7 separate regions of the Homo sapiens genome follow, and all the other regions are linked to region 1. The links are contacts of gene promoters, found by promoter capture Hi-C in blood cells and fetal thymus (Javierre and others, 2016). All regions are on one chromosome and are shown on one strand. Each heading gives the region's core, a stretch centred on a gene start or on the middle of the fragment in contact. The rest is flanking DNA. Distances are from core to core; before and after follow the strand shown. Region 1 holds the start of FBXO8 (F-box protein 8). Region 2 overlaps ASB5 (ankyrin repeat and SOCS box containing 5). Region 3 overlaps GALNT7-DT (GALNT7 divergent transcript). Region 4 has its middle 53 kb from the start of WDR17. Region 5 overlaps GALNTL6 (polypeptide N-acetylgalactosaminyltransferase like 6). Region 6 has its middle 4.6 kb from the start of SPATA4. Region 7 overlaps WDR17 (WD repeat domain 17).

Region 1 (3,265 bases), core at 643-3,142:
ATTTTGGAAAACATTTCAGTGTCTCTTACATGATTTCTACCTCTGATAATGGAATTTCTGACAACAAAGTTATGTCTCTCTTCAGTACCAGTGAATAAATATTTTGAAGAGTAATACAAGCAGAGCTCGTGAACGAGGTAAGTGATAGGAGACAGAAAAATAAAGGGATTTAAAATTGGGATTATCACAGAATAAAATTACAGCTACTGCTCTACATTCTCACAAAGGGCTTTACTAAGTCTACTATAAAATTCAAAAGCCTTAAAAACAAGACATTAAAAGAAGCCAATCTATTACTTATGTACATTTTAACACCTTACTTTCATTAATGAAAAATACTTTTAAAAATTTAACATTTTCAACTTATAGCACTGATCAAAGGCAAACTAAGGAAAAAAGGAGATACCACTCAGCTTGCAGCATAGATTCAATAATAAAGAAGCTCTCAATATTCCTTTCTAGCTTCCTTCCTTGTCTACAAGTCAGATCTGCGCAATTGAACTTGTGGGAGAGGTTGTGAAAATAGTGTACTCTAGCAGTTTAGGATTTTCAACATCGCTCAATCTCATTGCTGTTAGAGGTCATTAAAACAATGCCTCCCAATAGAATGTCACTGGACCAGAGTGATTTTTGTTTAGAATGAAGCAACTACACTGACTCTAATAACAGTCAATGGCTAAGAGTTTGTGACATAGCACATAATGCTCGATATTATCTAAAAACACGTATCAAAAACAAAAAAGTAAAGATGAGAAAAACAGTTTATGAAACTGCAAAAGATATTAGGGAAATACTTCTCTAAGAGATAGGAGAAAGGTCTGAGAAAGGCAAAGCATCGAGAAAGCTGGGCGGGAGTGGGGAGGAGTAAGGGACAAGTAAAGAGTTCAACGGGACTGCTGTGTTCACACATAAAATTAAAAGGTCTGCAGATAATTCGGGAAAAAAACAGTCTAGCATGGCCATAATTCCAGAGTAAAAGAGAATAACAACTTCAAGATTAACTTGTTACAGTGAGGGAAAAATCTGTAGCCTTCAATAAAGGTGGAGAAATATTTGAAAAGCTGGGGAAATGCCAACAAGGAAAACACGAACTGCTGTCCTGTCTTCCTTATAGTCAGGAGCCGTTTGTATCCTCACCCCAGAGGATCCAATAGGAATCAGTAAGCCTATAACTTTCCAACCCTAAGTCACAACCTAATTCTGATAGGATGAGCTACCACGATACTTCCCACTTCGTTGTGACTAAAAGCATATACTAGTTGGGTATATAAGCAAGGCTCCCCTCCCGCCATTTGATTTAAAAGAATGAAAAGGCGGATCTGGTCATTCGTCTCCGCCCGGGGTCTCTGTAAGGACGGCGGAGAGAGGCGACCTCCGCCCAATACCAGGCGCAGCCTTGCCGTCTCCTCGGGGCTCACCAAGCAGCCACCAGCAAAGAAGCCGGTTTCAAAGGCCCAGCACGACAGGGAGAGGAAAACGGAGCATATGCAACCATACACAGTCACCAGAGTCCAGCCTCCCGCAACCAGTCGCTACAGCCAGGCGCCTGCGCCCAGAAGCGCTTCTCGCGCCGACCGTTTGTATTTGGAATTGTGGGTTCCTGCCCGCCACGCACCACCGCAAGACCTTCAAAGCTGGGAGCTTCTCTGTGCTCCAGGATTCCTCGCTGCCGATTCCACACCGCGTTCAAGACTCCTGTGAAGAGCGACTCCGCTGAGAGCCTCCTCAATGGCCAGTCCACTTCTAACTTGCAGCTGAGAAGTTTTTCTGATCTTGATGGTCAGAGTGGCTCGTGCTACGAAGTGAGAAACAAGGAATCTATAGCGAATCGTAAACAACAGAAATAAAAATGCGTCTCCGTTAAGAGTCGGAGCCTAACGTCACTTCCGGCAACAATAGGAAACGTCAAAATTGGGATAGTCGGCAGTTCTGGCCCCTGCAGCTGGAGGTACCCTGAGTTCTGAGGGTCGTAGTGCTGTTTCTGGTATTCTCATCGCGGTCACCTCTACCGGTGTGGACAAGTAAAGTTTGAATCAGCTTCTCCATGGCCTGGGCACCAGTTCCCGGCTGAGCCATTTTCCTTTTGGCTAAAAGTCCCCGCCCAGAGGCCAATTCGTCGCGGCGGCGGTGGAGATCGCAGGTCGCTCAGGTACAGGAGTCAACCTAGATATTTTAGATCTCTTGTCTCTTTTCCCTGTTCACCTTCACTTTTCTCGAAAATAAAGACAACCAGTGCTTGCCAGTTGGCCGAAACTGGCCGACCAGCAAGAGTTTGCGACCAATGACAGTGCGAAGCATCTTGAGTGACAGTAGTGGTGGCTCATTAAAGTGAGGAATCACTGTCAGGAGGCGGAACTGGGTGTGTTCCTTCTGTTTCTAGGCCATTGGGGTGTAGTTCGGTTTAGGACTCCAAGTAGTAACCCAGCGTCATTGTGAAATAAACCTGAGAAATGACAAGGGTTACTTTCTTCAGGTCCAAGTGTTGGTTTTCGGGTCGAGTGTTATTTTGGTTCCTAGACAGTTTTTGGTTCTTTACCACTTTCCAGTAATATGAATGCAAACACAAGTATAGTTAAGATCACGATGGATTGCTAGCTGCTACAGTAGTCAAACTTGGGTTATAAAACTTGTCAAACTTGTCTTTTATTTGTTTCTCAGCGACTGGGTTCTAATCTCTTACGTAGAAGGTTCTCAATATTTATTTGGCAAAATCACATAAATGGATCCCAATCCTCAGTCATTTAATTTTTTTAGTTTTATTTTTAGGTTCTGTATGAATTTACTAATAAAATAATTGATTCTACTTGTTTTACAAGTAAAATATTCATTTTCAAGGCTCCTAGGTGTATATCCACAAATGAATATATCATGATTTTTATTACGGTAAAGTGAAGACAATTTATGTTTTCTATTTCAGCTTTCCTCTTCCTTCTTTTAATGTTTGAAGTAATGTATTTCTGAGGTAGGAGCTCTACACACTTCTCAACTCTACCCTTCACGAAAATGATATGTGAAACAGAGTAGGTTTCAGAATAAAGAATGCATAAGTTTTATTATTTTTTTCATATTGGGTCAGAAATTCATCTTTAGCCAATTAACCTGACAATATGTCTGATGAGGTACTTCATTAGTTGTCTATTGCTGGGTAACAAATTACCCCCAAATTTACCCCAGCTTAAAACAACAAATATTATCAGTTTCTGTACATCAGGAATTAGGGTGCAGCGTAACTTCATTTAATAATAAGTTACAGCAAATTAACTAA
Region 2 (3,194 bases), core at 495-2,994, 1.9 Mb before region 1:
GCATTTTTAAAAGCTTTCCTTTCATGCAGATATCATCAATGTGCCTTTTGATTTAAAAGGCTCAATATCTTTATATACTTACTGACTTAAACTACATAAGTGAGAAATGGCAGGAAAATCTATATACATTTTACCTAAATAGCTCACATATTCATGAGTTTCCCAAGAAAACCAAAGAGCTTCATTGCCTTAAATAAATGAAAAGAATAATAGAAATAAGCACCTGAATAATTCTAAAAGCTATCAACCATGATGAAAATAAAAATGAGTGAACTTAATTGTGCACTCTTTATAATAGTAGTTAGTATGGTTACTTTTGGAATCATTTAAAAGTTAAAAAGAATTTTATTATGATAGTTCAAGCATACAGAAAAGTATCAGAGAGTCACATAACAAATGTATGTACCCTCTGCCATTCAGATGTGCCCAGTTTATATATATGTATATGTACATATGAGGCATATATGTGTATGTAGATACTGTATATGTATATAAAGAAATAACTCATAACAAATAGAGTTGAAGTCCCCTTAATAACCTTCCTCTATTGCCTTTCCTTTTCTATCCCCACTGAGGCAGCTGGCTTATTTAACAACTTTTATTTATATTTATCTTCACTCCGTATTACATGTAGGTGCTGACGTACAGAAAGGCAAATATTGGGATACTCCATTACATGCTGCTGCTCAACAATCCAGCACAGAAATTGTAAACTTACTGCTAGAATTTGGAGCAGATATCAATGCCAAAAATACAGAGCTTCTGCGACCTATAGATGTAGCTACGTCTAGCAGTATGGTGGAAAGGATATTGCTTCAACATGAAGGTAAGAAAAATACATGTGGAAACTTACAAAAACAAAATATATTTGCCTAAAATAGATGAAAGTGAGAGAGTTTTTGTTGGCATGGAAAGTAACAATGGCATAAAATGTGGAATATTATTTGTGAAAGTAGATGATTTTTAACTTAGGTTTTATCTATAAAGAAGATATCAGCCGAGTGTGGTGGCTCACACCTGTAATCCCAGCACTTTGGGAGGCCAAGGCGGGTGGATCACAAGGTCAAGAGATCAAGGCCATCCTGGCCAACATGGTGAAACCCTGTCTCTACTAAAAACACAAAAATTAGCTGGGCATGGTGGTGCGTGCCTGTAATCTCAGCTACTCAGGAGGCTGCGGAAGGAGAATCACTTGAACCCGGGAGGCGGAGGTTGCAGTGAGCCAGGATTACGCCACTGCACTCCAACCTGGCAACAGAGTGAGACTCCATCTAAAAAAAAGAAAAAAAATGATAATTTTAATTTTCTCTTTCATCTTACCTAAACTCTCATATATTTTTGGTTAAATATATTCAATTAGTTTCAGTAATGCATTATATGCACTTCTGGTATAATATCTGCTGATTTATATTTGGAGCATGCCCCATTTTATAAGGACATGAACCTTCTATAACATATTATAGAAATAAAATTAGTAAATATTTTTACATTTGAGACTTTTGTTCTAAAATAGGATTTCTTAATCCTAGTCCAGGGACTATAATATTTCTTTTAGGGTAAATATTAAACTTAATTTTAAAATTTCCCCTTTTAGTGCATAATACTTCTCAGGACTTTTGATTTATATCTCCTTCAAAAAGCAGACTTTGTTTCTGAGGCTTTAAATTCAACAATTATTTCCTAAGCCTGAGGATTATAATATTTTAAGGAATGTATATGGAATATATCTCAATTATAATAAGATCTTATAAATAAAAGCAATATAACTGCTTACATAAATTTCCCTAGTATAGTGGTCATGCTATCCTAGGTTTACTACAAAGCATTGTAGTTTTTATGGTTTTATGTTATGTACCTTACAACATAAAAAATTCATTTCTATTTTAATTAACAAATAGATTCATGTCTTCTTGTAGCTACCCCAAGCTCTCTTTACCAACTTTGCCGACTCTGTATCCGAAGCTACATAGGAAAACCAAGATTGCACCTTATCCCACAACTCCAGCTGCCAACGTTACTGAAGAATTTCTTACAGTATCGATAAAACAGTAAAGTAATTCTAAATACCTTGAAAATCAAAATTTCTATTTCTTTTGCTTAAGGAATAGTTCATATAAAAATATGCTAAAGATAGGATAAAAGTGAGTGTGAGATCACCCAGGGAAGCAGTAAAATATCAATTTTCATTTTAAGTGTATTAGTACTATTGTTTTATCATTTATGCTGTCTTTGGATTATAGCATATTTATAATATCTATTTTTTGTTATTTCAATATACCCTCCTGTTTATTCAGGAAAAAATAATAAAGTCACTATCTTATGTTTTCTTTTGGATTGGAAAGAAATAAAGCTCCTAGTAAAGTTATTCATATTATATTTAAAAAGGTCTATGTTCTTCAACTAATGGGTTAACTTTTTAATTTTGGCTATTGTAATTGGCTAACTTGTTACTGATATTGACATAAAATATGAATATGGCTTAGCAAAGAGCAACTAATATGTTTTCTGAAACCAGGATGATGCTCATTCAGGAAATCCACTATGTTGAATGTCCACTGGTCATTAGAATGAACACTTCATAAAGATAAATTGCCCCCCTCTCCCCCACTTACCCCTGGCAAAGGACTCACAAGTCACTTCTCTTCTCCATAGTACATGGACTTGTTACAGAAAAGTGATAGGATGAAAGGTCAATACTGCCCTCTCACCCTGAGATATTTAGAACATTACACACCTTCTAAGGCTATGTTAAGACTGCCTCCTTCTCAGGAGTAGCCCCTGATGATCTCTTATCAAGGCGGTTATATGCATATTACTCCAGCCTTCTTCCATTTCAGAAATTGTCAATAGCTAGTGATACTTGGACTTAAGAAAATGAACTATATATCTAATTAACAAACAGGCCCTGGATCATATTCCGGGGATCATCACATCAGTCCAAGGATATAAAAAAATGGAAGATTAAAAACTCAAATTGTGGAGTTTTTAAAGAGTGGGTGCCACTTAACACATTGGAGACCTTAAAAAATGTATATAGAGAACTTAATCGCACTGTTTCTAATTCTTTTTACACAAAACAAGGGCTTAGAGTATACTGTATTTGCAAGTAATAGCAAGAGAGTATTGTATAAAAGAAGATATTACTAAGCTAGTCCTCTGCAAGGGTAAATACTACGTTTATTCTCTTCAGCTTT
Region 3 (3,275 bases), core at 226-2,725, 1.1 Mb after region 1:
GAATGTGCAGAATGCCTGAGATGAGTTACAGTGATAGGAAGAAATCCGGATGGCTGGAGTGAGTATTCCAGGGTAGGCAGTAGCTAAACCCAGGGTTTTCGAGGCAATCCTAAAGACAGTGGGCAGGGGAGAAAAACAGACTATCAGGTGACTATGTGTGGAGAGCTACAGAGAGCACCAGGATTAGCTTAACACACCAGAATATACAGAGTTCAGTTTAGAGTCCCTTGCCTCATCCTATCTGATACTGTTAAGAATGCACATATATCTGTTTTCCTAAAAGTAGACTGGGGAAAGAGAAGCCAGTGCTCTCTTACTGGATGCTATTCTTCGATTTATTTAATGTATGTTTACTGAATATCTGGTATATTCAAGGGCATGTACCACATTGTGCTAAGCACTGTTGAACATTCAACGTACAAGTTAATATTTATTGAGTGCTTGCCTGTTACACACTTAGAGTTGTGGTGATTATAAATGAAGTTGTGGGCCTCGTTTACAGTAATCTCGCTGAAAGTAGGACACAACAAAATAAGCAACTAGGCCTGTCTACAAACAGGTATTATGCACACTGCTTAATGTTTTAATAAACAACCAAGTTGATCTCAGGGTTATATCCAACAATAAGAGAATTTTTGGTTTTTAATGTTATTTTTTAAAGACTTAGAACTAATTTCGGTTTTATAGTACAGGTACCAAATTAATTTTTGCTCAAAAATATAAGTGCATATTATGTGCTAGGCGTTGTACCAGTGATACAAATTGAGGACATTGTTCCTTGCCTCTGAGAAGCTTGCAAACAAGTGGGAACTATAACAATAAATATATTACGGTGGGATGTGCTATAAAAATGTTAGAAGATGTTAAAGTAATGTGGGCAACTTTGTAAACCTGTTTAATTTATTCCATTCCATCATACTGCAAAAATGAGAATAATGCATTTCCTGCTTTTTTTTTTTTTTTTTTTTTTTTTTTTTTTGAGACAGAGTTCCGCTCTTGTTGCCCAGGCTGGAGTGCTATGGTGCGATGTTGGCTCACTGCAACCTCTGCCTCCTGGGTTCAAGCGATTCTCCTGCCTCAGCCTCCTGAGTCGCTGGGATTACAGGCGCCCACCACCATGCCCAGCTAATTTTTGTTATTTTTAGTAGAGACGGGGTTTCGCCATGTTGGCTAGCCTGGACTCGAACTCCTGACCTCAGGTGATCCACCTGCCTTGGCCTCCCAAAGTGCTGGGATTACAGGTGTGAGCCACTGCACCCAGCCCATTTCCTGCATTTTTATTGACACAATTTTAAATAAAATGCTTGAAATCCAACACATTTCTGTTTTCTTCTGAAATGTTCTAAATAGAACATTTATTTGTCTAATAAAGTTATAAGAGTCATGAACCATTTCTTGTTTGGAGAATTAGTCTTTTGGTAATCAGAAAAGGAACAGGTAGCAAATTGCATTCCAAAAATGAAACTTTTAATCAGAAGGAGACATTTTCAGTGTGATTAGGCAGTTTTCTGTCAGCACAGGTTAAAGAAAATCAACCAATAGACTAGATCCCAGAAAACTTTCTAAGAATGTCCATTGCTTTTTTCAAAAAACAGACTTCATTCATAGTATTAAAAGCATTTGTATAGCTTGCTTCTTAAATGCTATACACAATTTTTCATATATCAACATGGAAAGGTTTCCGCTTTTATTCAAAATATGCAAATGAGTCATAACTGTTACCATTCACATAAGATTTTATTGATAAATGTATTCAGTAAGTATTGAGTGACTAGTTGTATCAGACTGTGAGGATACAGAATCCTGCCCTTAGAGCACTTAGAGCTTGGAGAATCTGATGGCATAATGAATAGTTACAGAAGGTGTTTCTTTTTCTTAACCATTCTTCTCACTAATACTTTTAACAAAAAATTGAAGGTCATACTTTATTAGTATTTTCAAATACTCTCTTTGATTAGAATTGCCTAAAAACACTGCTTTTCTAGGTATCTTTAATTTGATGCTACAATGGCTCACATTATGAACTTATCAAGGAAGATTACTGCCATGATTCACTGTGGTGAATTTTTCTGTTTAAAAAAAAAAAGATGGAAGGAAGGAAAGGAAGGAAGGAAGGAAGGGAGGAAGGAAGGATTAACATAGCTACCTCTGAAGCTTTTTATGGTACATGTATAATAAAAGAAGGAAAATTTGGGAAGCAGCAATTTGGGAGCACAGAGATAAGGCAAAGTGAAATATAGGTAGAATTGTACAACAAATCAGAATTATTTTTAACCAAGTTTGGGAAAACAGAAGGTTAATAGTTAATGCAATCTAAATAAAATCCTATGACATAACCTAATGATTGAGAAGATCCTAAATTAGATACGTTATCAAGAGGAAATAGTGTATTTAAATTCCTTAATTGAGCCAGAAATAAAATTTCAGCCACCAATTGCCCATATAAAGCCTACCAAGTGACTAGAATTATGTCTCTTGCCTAGAAATAGGTCAATTAGATAAATGATTGCAAAGAAATAAGTGATGTCTGATTTCATAAGTCATTTAATGCTTAATAACCAAAGTAAATCAATCAAGGGTTAGGGAAAATAGCAGTTCTAATCTGTTGGTTTTGAGGCTTGAGACTTATTTTGCTTCTTTAATTTTTAAATCTCAGCATTAGAAATCAGAATTTTTCATTACATTTCTCTTTTCTTCAAATAGTCTCAAGTGACTGTTGAATTCATAGAATTACATATGTAAATTTTAAAGTGAAGATTTACTTGATAGGTTTTAAAAATGTCAATTGCACAGAGAAGGTGCTATGAATAAGAATTCACACCTGCCTAGGGCAAGTAGACAATTAAAAAAAAACTCTACATCATTTTAAATATACATTCTCATACTTTTGGATCAGAACATCAAAAGAGGAACTTTGCCATTTAGAGTTGCCATAAACTTGCATTTATTGAACACTCAGAATGTGAGCACAAGTGATTTTAATAATAGCACAACCTCTCTCAATAACTCACAGAAGCTCCAAACGAGTCCTTTCCCTTCATTCTGAGCCTATTGTCTACCACCAAGCTCAGAGCTTATTAGGTAGCTTTAAGATTCAGTGAAGTCTCTTATTTCTATAAATTTGAAGGATAACTGTTTCAAAGCATAAAATACAAGAAAAGTATACATTGAAGGACTAGTTATTGGGATTTAACATTCTCATCAGAGCCCACACTCATCCTCCAGGTAGACTAATGGGGCAATATATAGAGATACTGCATGTTCACCAAACTCCC
Region 4 (3,203 bases), core at 422-2,921, 1.7 Mb before region 1:
TAACTTCACCAAGGTGAAATTGGTGTGGCACATTTTCACTGGGAAAGAGGTGGCTGCAAAGACCATCAGTAAGACTCAGCAGAACTCCCCCAGCCTCCTGTGACTGTTCCAGAAAAACCAAATCAAGAAGGCCTTGAATCAACCCACCATAGTGAAATTATCTGAAGTGATTGACATTAAGAAAATCCTCTACAGTATTGTGGAGTATGTTGGTGGAGGAGGGGGTGTTCCATTACCTGGTGGCTGATGGCAGCATGAAAGAGAAAAAAGCACAAGGCGAATTTTGCCATGAAGTGCCTATTGTGCAGTGTTACCACCAGAGGTGTATGGTCCTTAGAGACCTGTGGGCAGAACATCTGCACAGCTGACATTGTAGGCTAGCTTCACAACAAATTCACCTTTGGCAACAAGCTAGCTGCCCTCTGTGGCAGCCCTCTTTATATTGCCCCACAGCTCTTCCAGGGCCCAAAGTACAACAGCTGCTAGTGAATGAGTAAAGACTGGCAGTTATCCTCTATCGGCTGCTCAGTGTGCCCCTGCTGCCTTGTGATAGACAGAACTTCAAGGAGTTGCCAGAGTAGATATTGAGAAGAATATCTGGTATTTCTTGCTATATGCCCATGGAGTGTGAAAACCTGCTCAAGAAATTTCTTGTCCTCAACTCTCGCAGGAGAGGCACTTTAGAGGAAATCATGAAGCATCCGTGGATGAACATGGACCACGAGGAGGAACTGAAATCTAAACTCTTACATTGACCACTTCCTGCTTTTAAGAATCCCTGACAGACTGAGATAATGCCCATGGCTTATACGTGCGAAGAGATTCAGAGCTTGTTAATGGGTCAGAATTATGCCAAAGCAATGACCATCCATCTGCTCCTGGGCTACGAGAGATCTGAGATGGAGCACTACCCCATTATCCTCAAGCCTCGGCTTCAGCTCATCCCACCAACAGCTGTACTCCTTCCTCACTTGCAAGGTATAGCATGAGATCTCTGCCACCTCAAAGCGGCAGAGTTTCAATGAGCCTGCCATTCCCACCTTTAATTCTCACTCTAAGAATAGCAAAGACATGGAAGCAGCCTAGATGCTCATCAGTGGTGAATAGGTTAAATAAAATGTGCTACATATACACTAGAATACTATGCAGCCGCAAAAAATGAAATCATGTCCTTTACAGCAACATGGATACAGCTGGAGGCCATTATACTAGGCAAATTAATGCAGGAACAGAAGACCAAGTATCACATGTTGTCACTTGTAAGTGAGAGCTAAGCATTGGGTACACATGGACATAAAGATGGGTATAGTAGACAGGTACTAGACGGGAAAGGGCTGAAAAAAAATATATATATTATATATTTATATGTATAATGTTTATATATATAGTAGACATATATTAGAGGCAAAAGGGCTGAAAGCCATCTATTGGGTACTGTGCTCACTACCTGGACAACAGGATCATTCATAGCCCAGACCTCAGCATCACACAATATACCGGTGTAACACGCCTGCACATGTACTCCTGAATCTAAAATAAAAGTTGAATTTATTTAAAAAGTCCCCTTATGACCCCTTCTGTGGGGCACTGAACCACTTGTGATCTGCTGCTACCCAATCCATGAATCACTGAATATTCACATGAACTCATTAAATTTTTTCAAAAATGTAGTCAGAGTGCCACAAGAATTCAGTGGTCCGGGCAGAACCAGGAGTCAGAGTGGAAGGCCAGTGGCTCTGTGAAAGTGCCTGCTGGTCACCTAATCTGCCTAGAGGTGAAGACCACCTCCTTACAGCATAGCCCTCCAGTATGGCCCTGTGGCCTCCCTCTCTACCCACAATGCTGGCAGCATTGGTGGAGCCCAAGTTGAAACTGATTTCCTCCAGGGTCTCTCCTCCAGATGAAAATCCCTTCACTCTGGGCAGTTCGGAAAGGTGCACAACCAGCAAAATATGCTTGAGGATGAGACCCCCAGCCTCTTCTGATAACAGCCAGACCCTGCAGTGGGGCACTGGGAGGTTCCTCACCATTGATCTGCAGATATGTATGTTTCCAGTTGGCCAGAAACATAACAGCATAAAGCTGAAAGCAGTGCATATCAGACATAAAAAGATGGGCAGCAGAGGCAGGAGAGGCAGTGATAAAATCAAGAAAGAATGTCAGGAGTTCAAGCTGTGCTCCCTGGTTTTACCTGGAGAATGAAGACCATGAGCTCCGTGTAGCCCACCGAGATGCCAGAGATCAGCCAGGTGCCTGGTCAAGAGAGCTTTGTGCAGTGAAGAATGGAGGTGTCCAAACTCTTTCTGTGGGGTTCAAATTAAGATGATATTCAGCACCTTTGAGGCCTTCAAAAGCATTATCTCCAGAATAACTGGTAAGCCTGGGGAACTGCCAGTATTCATCAGAGAGACAAGAGGAGAGACCTCTGGCCCTAGTCATAGGCCTGGCACTCTGCCCCACCTGGTGAAACTTTAGAGACTGGACTGCTTCGAGAACATGGTTCTGTAAATATAAAACACACACACACCCACACACACACACACACACACACACACACAATTTAAAACAACATATGCTAATTATTGCATTTAAATGTTAAGGAAAACCACTCTGCTTTATTGCTATAGCTGTCACAAGACACTTACCTACAGCTTTGCAACGGGGAGGCTCAAAACCCTTCAAAATTCTCTTGTGACTCAACTGCAAACCACAAAAGAAAATCACTTTCCTCAAGGGAAACCAAAGCCCAGTGAGGCCATCCTAGGAATAGAACAAAAATTAATGAATTGTAAAGGAGACTGCATTTGGAAGCTGTTGTGTTGGTGTTTCTGGCTGGGAAAATAAGGCCTGAGGGTACTATCTGTACAATATATATTTTGTGAAACAACCACTTCAGTCTTTGTAAAACTGAAACAAATGAGCAAAAACGAATCCAAACCAAAACAAAAAGCAAACACAAAAAAGATCTGAGTCTTGTAGATGGAACCTCCACTCCCTGGAAAATCAGCCTGATCTCCCCATCTTTTTTATCATTGGTTACCCTGCTCAAGGATCCATGGTTTCCTCTTGGTCCTTACTCGTATATAAATTATGAAAATTTATGCTTCATATTTATGGTATACATCGACTGTTTTCATTTATTCCCTTCAGCAATTTTCATAGTTGCAGCTAACATTTTTATAACTGTTTAAAATTTTCAGCCT
Region 5 (2,832 bases), core at 215-2,714, 1.3 Mb after region 1:
GCCTTATAGAACCATCAGATCTTATGAGAACTCAGTCACTATCAGGAAAACAGCATGAAGGTAACTGCCCTCATGATTAAATTACCTCCCACTGGGTCCCTCCCATGACACATGGGGATTATGCGAACTACAATTCAAGATGAGATTTGGGGACACAGCCAAACCATATCACAATGTTAACTCTTATTTCTTTGCTTTAATATTAATGTGATATGTGTCATGTTGCCTGGGTCCGTTTGTATTATATGAATAAGGTCACTGGATTTGGTACTGCCAATACACTTATCTCTTGCTCTTGCTACCTGACTTGAGACAGCAGAAAATATTTTTCTCTGTCTGGATTGTGATGTTTTATTTCATTGTTATGAGGTTTGCAGAAACCTGAGATACAGCATGTTTCTCCTTGCAGTTTGCACCCATCAGTTCGCTCTGTCTTGATAATGAGACTCTTTTTTCCCAAAGAGAGAAAAAAGAAAGGAAAAAAATCTGTCCCCTGGATGCACACATTTGCTTGCTTCTGTCTTTGTGAACCTTCCCCTAGGCCCTGGAGAGGGAGCCAGTGTTTGCTTCCTCGGGAGGACGAAAGCTGGGCTGCAACACTTGCTCCCCAGCATGACATCAGAGCCTGCTGCTGGGCCTGCAGAGTGGGAACAGCCAAACTAGACCAAGGGGGTTCCTCCCCGCCACTCCTCTCCCTTGGACTCAATGGGAGCTGGGGAATGTTCTTTCCAGACCTTATAGTCTTATTAGGATCTATTTTTGTTTTTCTTTCTTGATCCCTAAAGGAAGCATAATGCTACCATGATATCAAACAGCTATGCAGATTGCCCTGGCAAAATGAATCATACATTTGCTTCCTTCACAGAAACCACGTTAGTCACCACCAGTGTTCTGCAGCAGAAGGCATTTTCTTATACAGGTCCTTCAATGGACTCTTTTTTATTTCCCATGTAACAATTTTGTTTTTTCCTTTTTTTAATTTTTGCCACTTTTTTTTTTGGAAAAAAACGGATTATTTCAACTCTAATAAGTCTCCTTTTGTGTTTTTTGAATGTTTTTGAATTAAAAAGAAAATCCATAATTGTCATGTTCCGATATGCCTTCCTCATGCAGGAATTTTAATCTAAATGTAGAAGAGTGCTTCCTAATTCTTGTAAGTCACTGAGTGATATATTGAATAAAGCTTACAGTTAATTACTGGTGAATGAAACAGCTTGTAATGTTTTAACCTCCAAGTCAATATATGGCAATATTTCAAACATGATGCATTTTCCACCACTTATCAACCTTATTTAATCCTACTGTAGCTTCATTTTTAGGATCTCTAGAGACAGGAAATCTTTTTAAAGAGCTGTATTAACTGGTCTTTCTGTTCTGCCTATGTAGTTTTCTGCTTGTCTAGTGCTGCCCTCTGGTGACCATTTCTTGAATTACGGGCCATAGATTTTTGCATTTTAGCCTGGGGGTGGGAGGTGGGGAGTTGGGGGACGTGGGGGGTGCGGGGAGTGAACCAGCAATTTTTAAAGTGTATGCAATATCGTTGCCTTTGTTTATATCCATGTTCCGCTGTCAAATAAAATCTGCAGGCCAGAGAAGATTTCATTCTAGAGCATTACTGGATAGAAATACTAAGCCCAGTTCAGACATTAAGGCCTGCTTTATATTCACCAGCTGGCCATGTGTGTTTCTTAGTTGGGTTGAATAGAGATGGTAGAGAGGAATTTAGCCCAAGAAATGAAGCTTTTCCTTATGGTTTCCTCCTTTTTCTTTTTAAAAAAGTTCTTTTCCACTCTAGATGCCAGCCTTACCGATAGCTTCTAAAGCCTTCTCTCTTGCTCCCAGGCTGAAGTCAGAATTGCTTGTTGGAGTTAACAGTCCAACACCATTCCTCAGGTCCCCAGTAACATCCCCATGGAGCTTATAGAAACAGACAGAGGAAGGAGGAGGCAAATAACTTTTCACTGATATTTGATTCCTATCAATAAATCTGGGAGTCACAGAGCCTTCTATAAACCCCTCTGGATATATGTATATAATCAGCCACCACGCCTGGCTGATTTTTGTATTTTTAGTAGAGACGGGGTTTCAAAATGTTAGCCAGGCTGGTCTCGAACTCCTGACCTCAAGTGAGCCACCCGCCTCAGCCTCCCAAAGTGCTGGGATTATAGGCGCGAGTCACCGTGCCCAGCCATGCAGGGCGCATTTGAGTGAATAATAACTAGTATTTGCTGACTATGCTGGGAACAGATAAATGAAGCCAAAGTCCCAGCTGCCTTGGACCTGAGAGAGGTTTCTAATTTGGTATTAGCATAAAGGGATTTGTGAGTGTTTGAGAGAAGGAAGGCAGGAGGGAGAGGATATTACTCTGCACCTGCTGCATGTGCAAGATGCTGCCCCAAGATTTATTCTCCTAACCACCCTGTCCAAGATGGAAGAACTATGGCCTAGAAAGATTTCACAACTTCACAAGGCCACATGGTTTAAACTAAAATCCAGGTTGGCCTGGCTACAAGGCCCACAGTCCTCCTAGAATACCATGAGGCTGTGGGGAGAGGGTTCAAAGATTGGATCAGTGGTTAGGGGAGAGGCACTGTTGATGGACTGAACATCTCTGGATTGTATTGTGGACTTGTTCTGTGGCTGTTTTCCTCGCATCATGATGCTCTGCATTGTAATGCGTGGTAGAGGGCAGGGAGGGGCAGTGAGGTGGGGCGAGGGAGGTGAATCTCAACACATCTGGACAACTCTTTAACATCCTGCGCTGGGCATGGTGGACCTTTTCTAGTTTAATGTACAAGATGGGCACCAGAGGAATCTGGCTATAGGAGGCAG
Region 6 (3,268 bases), core at 755-3,254, 1.9 Mb before region 1:
GTATAAGACCATCCTGGGCAACATAGTGAGACCCTGTCTTTACAGAAAATTTTCAAAATTTACCAGGCATGGTGGTATGCACCTGTAGTCCCAGCTACTCAGGAGGCTGAGGCAGGAGGATTGTTTGAACTCAGGAGTTCAAGGTTACAATGAACTATGATATGATTGTGCCACTGTACTCCAGCCTGGGTGACAGAACGAGACCCTGTCTCTAAAAAACAAAAATAAAAATGAAGTTTAATATCTGAGATATCAAGACATTTAAGTAAATGATTGAATCTTGTAGTCATTTTTTTTTTGAGACAGGGTCTCACTATGTTGCCCCAGCTGGAATTTAGTGGCACAATTATGGTTCACTGCAGTCTCAACTTCCCAGGCTATAGCGATCCTCCTTCCTTAGTCTCCCAAGTAGCGGAGACTACAGGTGTGCACCACCATGCCTGGTTAACTTTTTTTCAATTTTTTGTAGAGATGGAGGTCTCACTATGTTGCTTAGGTTAGCCTCAAACTCCTGGGTTCAAGTGGTCCTCCTGCCTCGGCCTCCCAACATGCTGGGATTAAAGGTGTGAGCCATCGCACTTGGCCTTGTAGTCGCTTTTTAAGAATTTGATACCAATATTGAGTATAAAATATTTAAATAGTAATTTAAGTAGATGTAGTCTTATTTAAGTTTATAGTTATGATTGCCTAAATATCGACCATATTTTCAATTCATATGTTTAGTGTACTGCATTCTTATTGCTACGCCTTTCAACTTAGAAAAACTGTTCAGAGTTGGTATGAGTGTTAAAATTATTTCCTCCATCAGGAGTGCCTTAGAATCTGGGCCAGAGCCTCTCAGTATAGCCACTTCTGAAAAACCACAGTCTGATGATAATTATGAAATACTATTTTGCTCTATGATGAGACTCCTCAAGAAGTTAAGCTTAAATACAGATGAAGACAGAAGCAGTTCAATGCTGCAACCAAAACGGGGAGTAAAGATCAGGAAATGGAAATGGATTTGTAATGCTTTTTGGTATACCCATCCATTTTGAGTTGTTTGCATTTCTGTGCATCTTGCAAGCAGATGCCCTGGCAGCTTTTGTTTCAGAACATCTTTTTAAAGATGTTCATATAGTGAACAGTGTTAAAAAATATAGTATCTTCCTTCAGAGGAGACTGCAGGTTTGTTTACTGACCAGTATCGTAAGAACAATGTTTCCCTCCAGGGCAAAGATTTGGCAGTTTTCCTTGCAGCCCATTATAAAAGACTGGGCTTCCCTAAGGTTGGGATTCCTCAGCTGTGATGTAAACCCATGGTGTGTGAGGCTTCCACCTCAGCCTCTTCACGTCATCCCGAGACACCTGTGGGCAAGAAGTACTAGCATGAACAGAGCTCACGCTGCTTCCTATGCTGTGAGCTGTAAAGTCTGTTTGGCTTATGCAGGTTAGAGGAATCCTAATGAATGAGTGTGGATTACTGTAGACTTAATTAACTCCAATTACAGCTGCTTTTCCATTGGAAGTGTCTTTTTTTTTATTTTTTATTTTTTATTTTTATTTTTTAGATGGAGTCTCACTCTATCACCCAGACTGGAGTGCAGTGGCATGATCTTGGCTCACTGCAACCTCCACCTTCCAGGTTCAAGCAATTCTCCTGCCTCAGCCTTCCGAGTAGCTGGGACCACAGGTGCATGCCACCACACTTGGATAATTTTTGTATTTTTAGTAGAGAAGGGGGTTTCACCATGTTGGCCAGGCTGGTCTCAAACTCCTGACCTCAAATGATCCACCCGCCTCGGCCTCCCAAAGGGCTAAATTATAGGTGTGAGCCACCTCACCTGGCCTGAAGTGTCTTTACTGGAATGAATTTCTACAGTCCCCAGCAAATGTTATTCTGCTGTTAATCTGGAATGTACTTTTTCCTCTCCATAACAGTCTGCGAAAACCACCAAAAGCAGTTTGCTTTTATCTATCAGGATCTATAGCACACATTCAAGCTATTGCCTTAGGTTCAGATCAATTTTCTTGCTCTTTGCCACAAGATTGGCAGAGATTTTTGAGTGTCTTAACATGTCATAGAACATCACACTAGTCCACTATATTGATGATATCCTGCTGAGTCGACCTCATGAACAGGAAGAAGCAAGTTCCTTAGATACTTTAGAAAGATGCAGGTGAGCTAGTGGTAGAGAAAAACCTCACTCCAGGTACCAAGCAATATGTCATTCAGCATCCAATCAGGAAAACAGAACTAATTCCAGGTATTCAACAGCAAGAATTTTAACAGCTGATCCTTGAACAACATTAAGATTAGGGGGACCGACGTCCTGCATGGTAGAAAACCCAACTGTAGACTCCCCAAAGACATAACTATTAATAGCCTACTGTTGGAAGTCTTACCAATAACATAAACATCAATTAACACATATTTTGTGTGATATATATTATGTACTGTATTCTTACAATAAAGTAAGCTAGAGAAAAGAAAATGTTATTAAGAAAATCATAAAGAAGCGAAAATATATTAACTATTCATTAAGTGGAAGTGGATCGTCAGAAAGGTCTTCATCCTTGTCTTCACACTGAGTAGGCTGAGGAGACGGAGGAAGAGGAGGGATTGGTCCTGCTGTCTTGGGGTTGGCAGAGGTGGAAGAAAATCCACATATTAGTGGGCCCGTGCAGTTCCAAATCCTGTGGTTCAAACCTGCATCGGCTTTATAAGGAACTGGTGGTGTTGAAGAACCGAAAAACTAAAATGGGACCATCAAATTAACACAGAGCTAGACACTTCAGGAAGCAATTACCACCCCCAGGGAAGAAGTTGAAGTTATAAGAACGTAAGAGTTGGAGGCTTAAGAGCCTCAAGACTTAGACTTGAGGATGGGGCGTACACAGCTGGTGCTAATACTTCAGGAGCTCACATGAGCTGTCCGAGAGTAAAATTGGGTCTCAGACTTCCAAGGAGGGCCACTTCTTGGTGGTTGCTAAAACCTCGGAGAGAATATGATGAAACTTGCACCAGGAGTGCTAAACAAACAAACCAACCAACCAACCATACTGGAGACTGGAACCAATTGCCCCGGCCAGGTGAAGCTTTGTTGCCATGGTTACACAGGGGCTTGAACAGCAAGCAGAGAAATAGCAAATCCCTGCTCCCCACCTCCTGGCCACTCTCTCACTCCCCATATTGGCAGAATTTACCATCCACCCAGCAAAGGAGAAAATGCCGCAGCGTTCCAACTCCGGCATCACAGAACTGAGAACAGAGAAGGGAGTGTTTCTA
Region 7 (2,888 bases), core at 352-2,851, 1.8 Mb before region 1:
GTCACAAGTACAGTACTAGCCTACATTAAAATCCTGGATTAGGTAGCAAGTAGAGAAGAATGAGGTCATTATGGCAGTTCTACTTTGGACTCACGAAATGACCACTTATACCAGTATGAATTCCATCTTGGTCAACAAAACACAGGAGTTATATCTAAGACCAAACACTGAACATCAAAAGAGCAAGACACCGATTCAAAGATACAGAAAGATGAATGGAGTTACCTTTATTATCTATTTACATATATTTTTATACTTTCCTCCATTTTAGCCATGAAAATGAAAATTATATGGATTTGAATCCTGGAACTAGACTTACCCAGATGCTTAGAGGATTACAGAACGTTTTGTGCTGCAACATGGAAATAATTTTTGATTTGATCAAAGAAGTAATCCACATCTACTTCAACAAGCTCATTCATATACTTTCATTGTGACCATTCTGAGAGAGGTATCCAAAGAATAATAGAAAAGGGAAAGGCCGGGTGTGGTGGCTCACGCCTGTAATTCCAACACTTTGAGAGGCCAAGGTGGGCCGAGGTCAGGAGTTTGAGACCAGCCTGACCAACATGGTGAAACCCCGTCTCTACTAAAAATAAAAAAGTTAGCTGGGCATAATGGCCTGCGCCTGTAATCCCAGCTACTCAGGAGGCTGAGGCAGGAGAATTGCTTGAATCCGGGAGCTGGAGGTTGCAGTGAGCCTAGATCGTGTCACTGCACTCCAGCCTGGGCGACAGAGTGAGACTCTGTCTCAAAAAAAAAAGAGAAAAGAAAAAAGAAAAGGGAGAAATCACATATTTTCAATTATAAACTAAGAATTTTTGAAGTAAATATTCCATTGCGAGAACACTATGGAAGGAAATAAGTAAATATTTGTCATAAAAAGATACAAGATTATTTCTTCAACAGGGTGTGGCAAAAAGTATACCCCTATTTTTATAAATAGAATCACTGCTCATTAAAAAAAAAAAGACTTGAGGAACTCTGCCATAAATTGCTATGTAATCCCCAGGACCCTCGCTCCCCTTCTAATTAACCTGGTTTGTGAGTTGGGTTTTGTATGTGAGTTTTTGAAGCAGGATGAGCCTTCATGCTTATCTGTCTATCAAACTTAGGATTCCCCATTGGGCAGAAAGTCACTTAATGCTGGCATATTCATGTTCTGGGAAAAGGTGTTAAAAATTATTTTGGCAAGTCAGTTTGGGAAAACCAGCAAAGAAAATCAAATGGATGCTTAGAAGCTTGAATATTAAAAAACAAAAACAAAAACAAAAACAGGGCCAGTCACAGAGGCTCATGCATCCCAGGACTTTGGCAGGCCAAGTTGGGTGGATCGCTTGAGCCCAGGAGTTCCAGATCAGCCTGGGCAACATAGTGAGCTGTCTTCTCTACGAAAAGTAAAAAAAAAAAAAATTAGCCAAGAGTGGTGGTGCGTGCCTGTAGTCCCAGCTGCTCAGAAGGCTGCTGTGGGGGGATTGATTGAGCCTGGGAGTTCAAGGCTGCAGTGAGCCATGATCACACCACTGCACTCCAGCAGGAGACCCTGTCTCAGAAGAAAAAAAGAAAAGAAAAAAGAAGTGGAAAAAAAGGGAAAAAAGGATCTACATAAACTAACTAAACTCGAAACTTTCTTCAATATATGCATTCAATATATTGACAGAGGCCTGAAATAAGTCTGATTTTAATTTGCTAAGTAAAGGGCTGTATTACCTAAGGTAGGGCCCAGGCACAGATCTGATAGGTTGGTAATCTACATATTAGTCTGCCTAAGTCAAATATTACGCTCTGAGCCAACATAAAATTCCCCCTAAACATGAGCTAATGAATTAATTTTGAAGGTGAGACATTATGCCCAAAAAGCTACTATTGATATATAAATGTTAACGAAACGTATCCACTATTATATTTTCAGGAATAAATTCATTTATTTAGTAGTTCATGGTACTCCCAAGTAAAGCTTCAGAAGTAGAACATAAGCCAGCTTTTCCCTTATTAATTTTGAGAACATAATTTTTATGTGTTTAGTGTCCTCATTAACAGAATAACGGTGTTAGAGTAACTGGTCTTAAGGATCCTTCTATCATAAATTCCAAAATGACCCCTTCAAACCTGTTTACCTTAAAAATAAAATGTTGCATAACTCTTTTCATTAAAAGTCATCCATAATGTTTTATCTTAAAGAATCAAACTTAATTAAATGTTAGCTATTTCTTATTAACCAACTATTCATTTTTTTGAGACTCCATGTGGAGCTGTTTGTATTGTAATGAAGGGTTTTTTTAATAGCATGTTAAACACGAGTGCTTTGTGTAATAAAAATTATTTTCTACTTTCCGATTTGAAAGTAAGTTTTCTGTGTGCGTGATATGAAATTGAACTTACTACACATCATTGTAAATGAGTCTGCCTGGGACACTGGTACATGCTTACAACTAAAAAAAATGGGAAGAATCTGGAAGAAGAAAACAATAAACCTAAGCATAAGAAAAATTGTTTAAGGACCTCAATCTTGAGTTCTCCATCTCAGAACATTTGAATGTACAAAACAAGTATTGACTGTTATAACATCTTCACTGACACATGGAAATTTATTTCTTACACTTTTGCTACAATTTATCCGAACATGACAATTATCAATCATCCTTATCATAGCAAATAACATTGTTAAATTACCTCCTGTATTATCTTAATTATAGATTTATATTACTGTCTATTTCTACAGTACATTTTTTAAATTAGAATGTAGAATTACAGAATTTTATAAGACAGCTTACTGAACAATACTTTGTAAGTACATTTAACATAATAAAAAGTAAGACTTTTATCAATATATATATATAAATTATTTTCCTCAAGTAGCTGATAATGTGACATCTGGAAGGCAGGTG

Evidence for each region. The method cuts DNA at HindIII sites, captures the fragments that hold promoters and counts their contacts. A CHiCAGO score of 5 or more calls a contact.
Region 2: a fragment that was not itself captured here is called in contact with the fragment with the promoter of FBXO8 in region 1 in 2 of 17 cell types (naive CD8 T cells and total CD4 T cells); the score reaches 10.6 in naive CD8 T cells.
Region 3: a fragment that was not itself captured here is called in contact with the fragment with the promoter of FBXO8 in region 1 in 1 of 17 cell types (non-activated CD4 T cells); the score reaches 5.2 in non-activated CD4 T cells.
Region 4: a fragment that was not itself captured here is called in contact with the fragment with the promoter of FBXO8 in region 1 in 2 of 17 cell types (total B cells and naive B cells); the score reaches 8.1 in total B cells.
Region 5: a fragment that was not itself captured here is called in contact with the fragment with the promoter of FBXO8 in region 1 in 9 of 17 cell types (activated CD4 T cells, naive B cells, fetal thymus and 6 more); the score reaches 10.2 in activated CD4 T cells.
Region 6: a contact is called between a fragment that was not itself captured here and the fragment with the promoter of FBXO8 in region 1, in 10 of 17 cell types (total CD4 T cells, naive CD8 T cells, non-activated CD4 T cells and 7 more). The highest score is 24.4, in total CD4 T cells.
Region 7: a contact is called between a fragment that was not itself captured here and the fragment with the promoter of FBXO8 in region 1, in 2 of 17 cell types (total B cells and naive B cells). The highest score is 6.0, in total B cells.

The regions. Positions count from the first base shown.
Region 1 is chr4:174,282,294-174,285,558 of GRCh38, reverse strand. FBXO8 (F-box protein 8) reads left to right here and starts at 1,892. Exons shown (of 6, transcript NM_012180.3): 1 at 1,892-2,149. It overlaps CEP44 (centrosomal protein 44), which reads right to left and starts at 1,648. Exons shown (of 12, transcript NM_001040157.3): 1 at 1,616-1,648. RefSeq lists a silencer at 1,416-1,683 and an enhancer at 1,448-1,697. The HindIII fragment of the contact is 4,999 bases long and covers 1-3,265 here.
Region 2 is chr4:176,214,450-176,217,643 of GRCh38, reverse strand. ASB5 (ankyrin repeat and SOCS box containing 5) reads left to right here. Exons shown (of 7, transcript NM_080874.4): 6 at 635-826; 7 at 1,917-3,194. The coding sequence ends at 2,044. Among named protein-coding and RNA genes, the nearest start is that of SPATA4, 20 kb to the right of the region's middle. The HindIII fragment of the contact is 3,458 bases long and covers 16-3,194 here.
Region 3 is chr4:173,148,376-173,151,650 of GRCh38, reverse strand. All of the region lies in intron 6 of GALNT7-DT (GALNT7 divergent transcript), which reads left to right. Among named protein-coding and RNA genes, the nearest start is that of GALNT7, 19 kb to the left of the region's middle. The HindIII fragment of the contact is 1,362 bases long and covers 795-2,156 here.
Region 4 is chr4:176,011,201-176,014,403 of GRCh38, reverse strand. It overlaps the pseudogene MARK2P4. Among named protein-coding and RNA genes, the nearest start is that of WDR17, 53 kb to the left of the region's middle. The HindIII fragment of the contact is 3,642 bases long and covers 1-3,203 here.
Region 5 is chr4:173,012,214-173,015,045 of GRCh38, reverse strand. The region is part of intron 11 of GALNTL6 (polypeptide N-acetylgalactosaminyltransferase like 6); the gene reads right to left. Among named protein-coding and RNA genes, the nearest start is that of GALNT7, 160 kb to the left of the region's middle. The HindIII fragment of the contact is 557 bases long and covers 1,186-1,742 here.
Region 6 is chr4:176,198,535-176,201,802 of GRCh38, reverse strand. No RefSeq gene overlaps it. Among named protein-coding and RNA genes, the nearest start is that of SPATA4, 4.6 kb to the right of the region's middle. The HindIII fragment of the contact is 2,153 bases long and covers 928-3,080 here.
Region 7 is chr4:176,069,206-176,072,093 of GRCh38, reverse strand. The region is part of intron 1 of WDR17 (WD repeat domain 17); the gene reads right to left. Among named protein-coding and RNA genes, the nearest start is that of WDR17, 4.8 kb to the right of the region's middle. The HindIII fragment of the contact is 716 bases long and covers 1,244-1,959 here.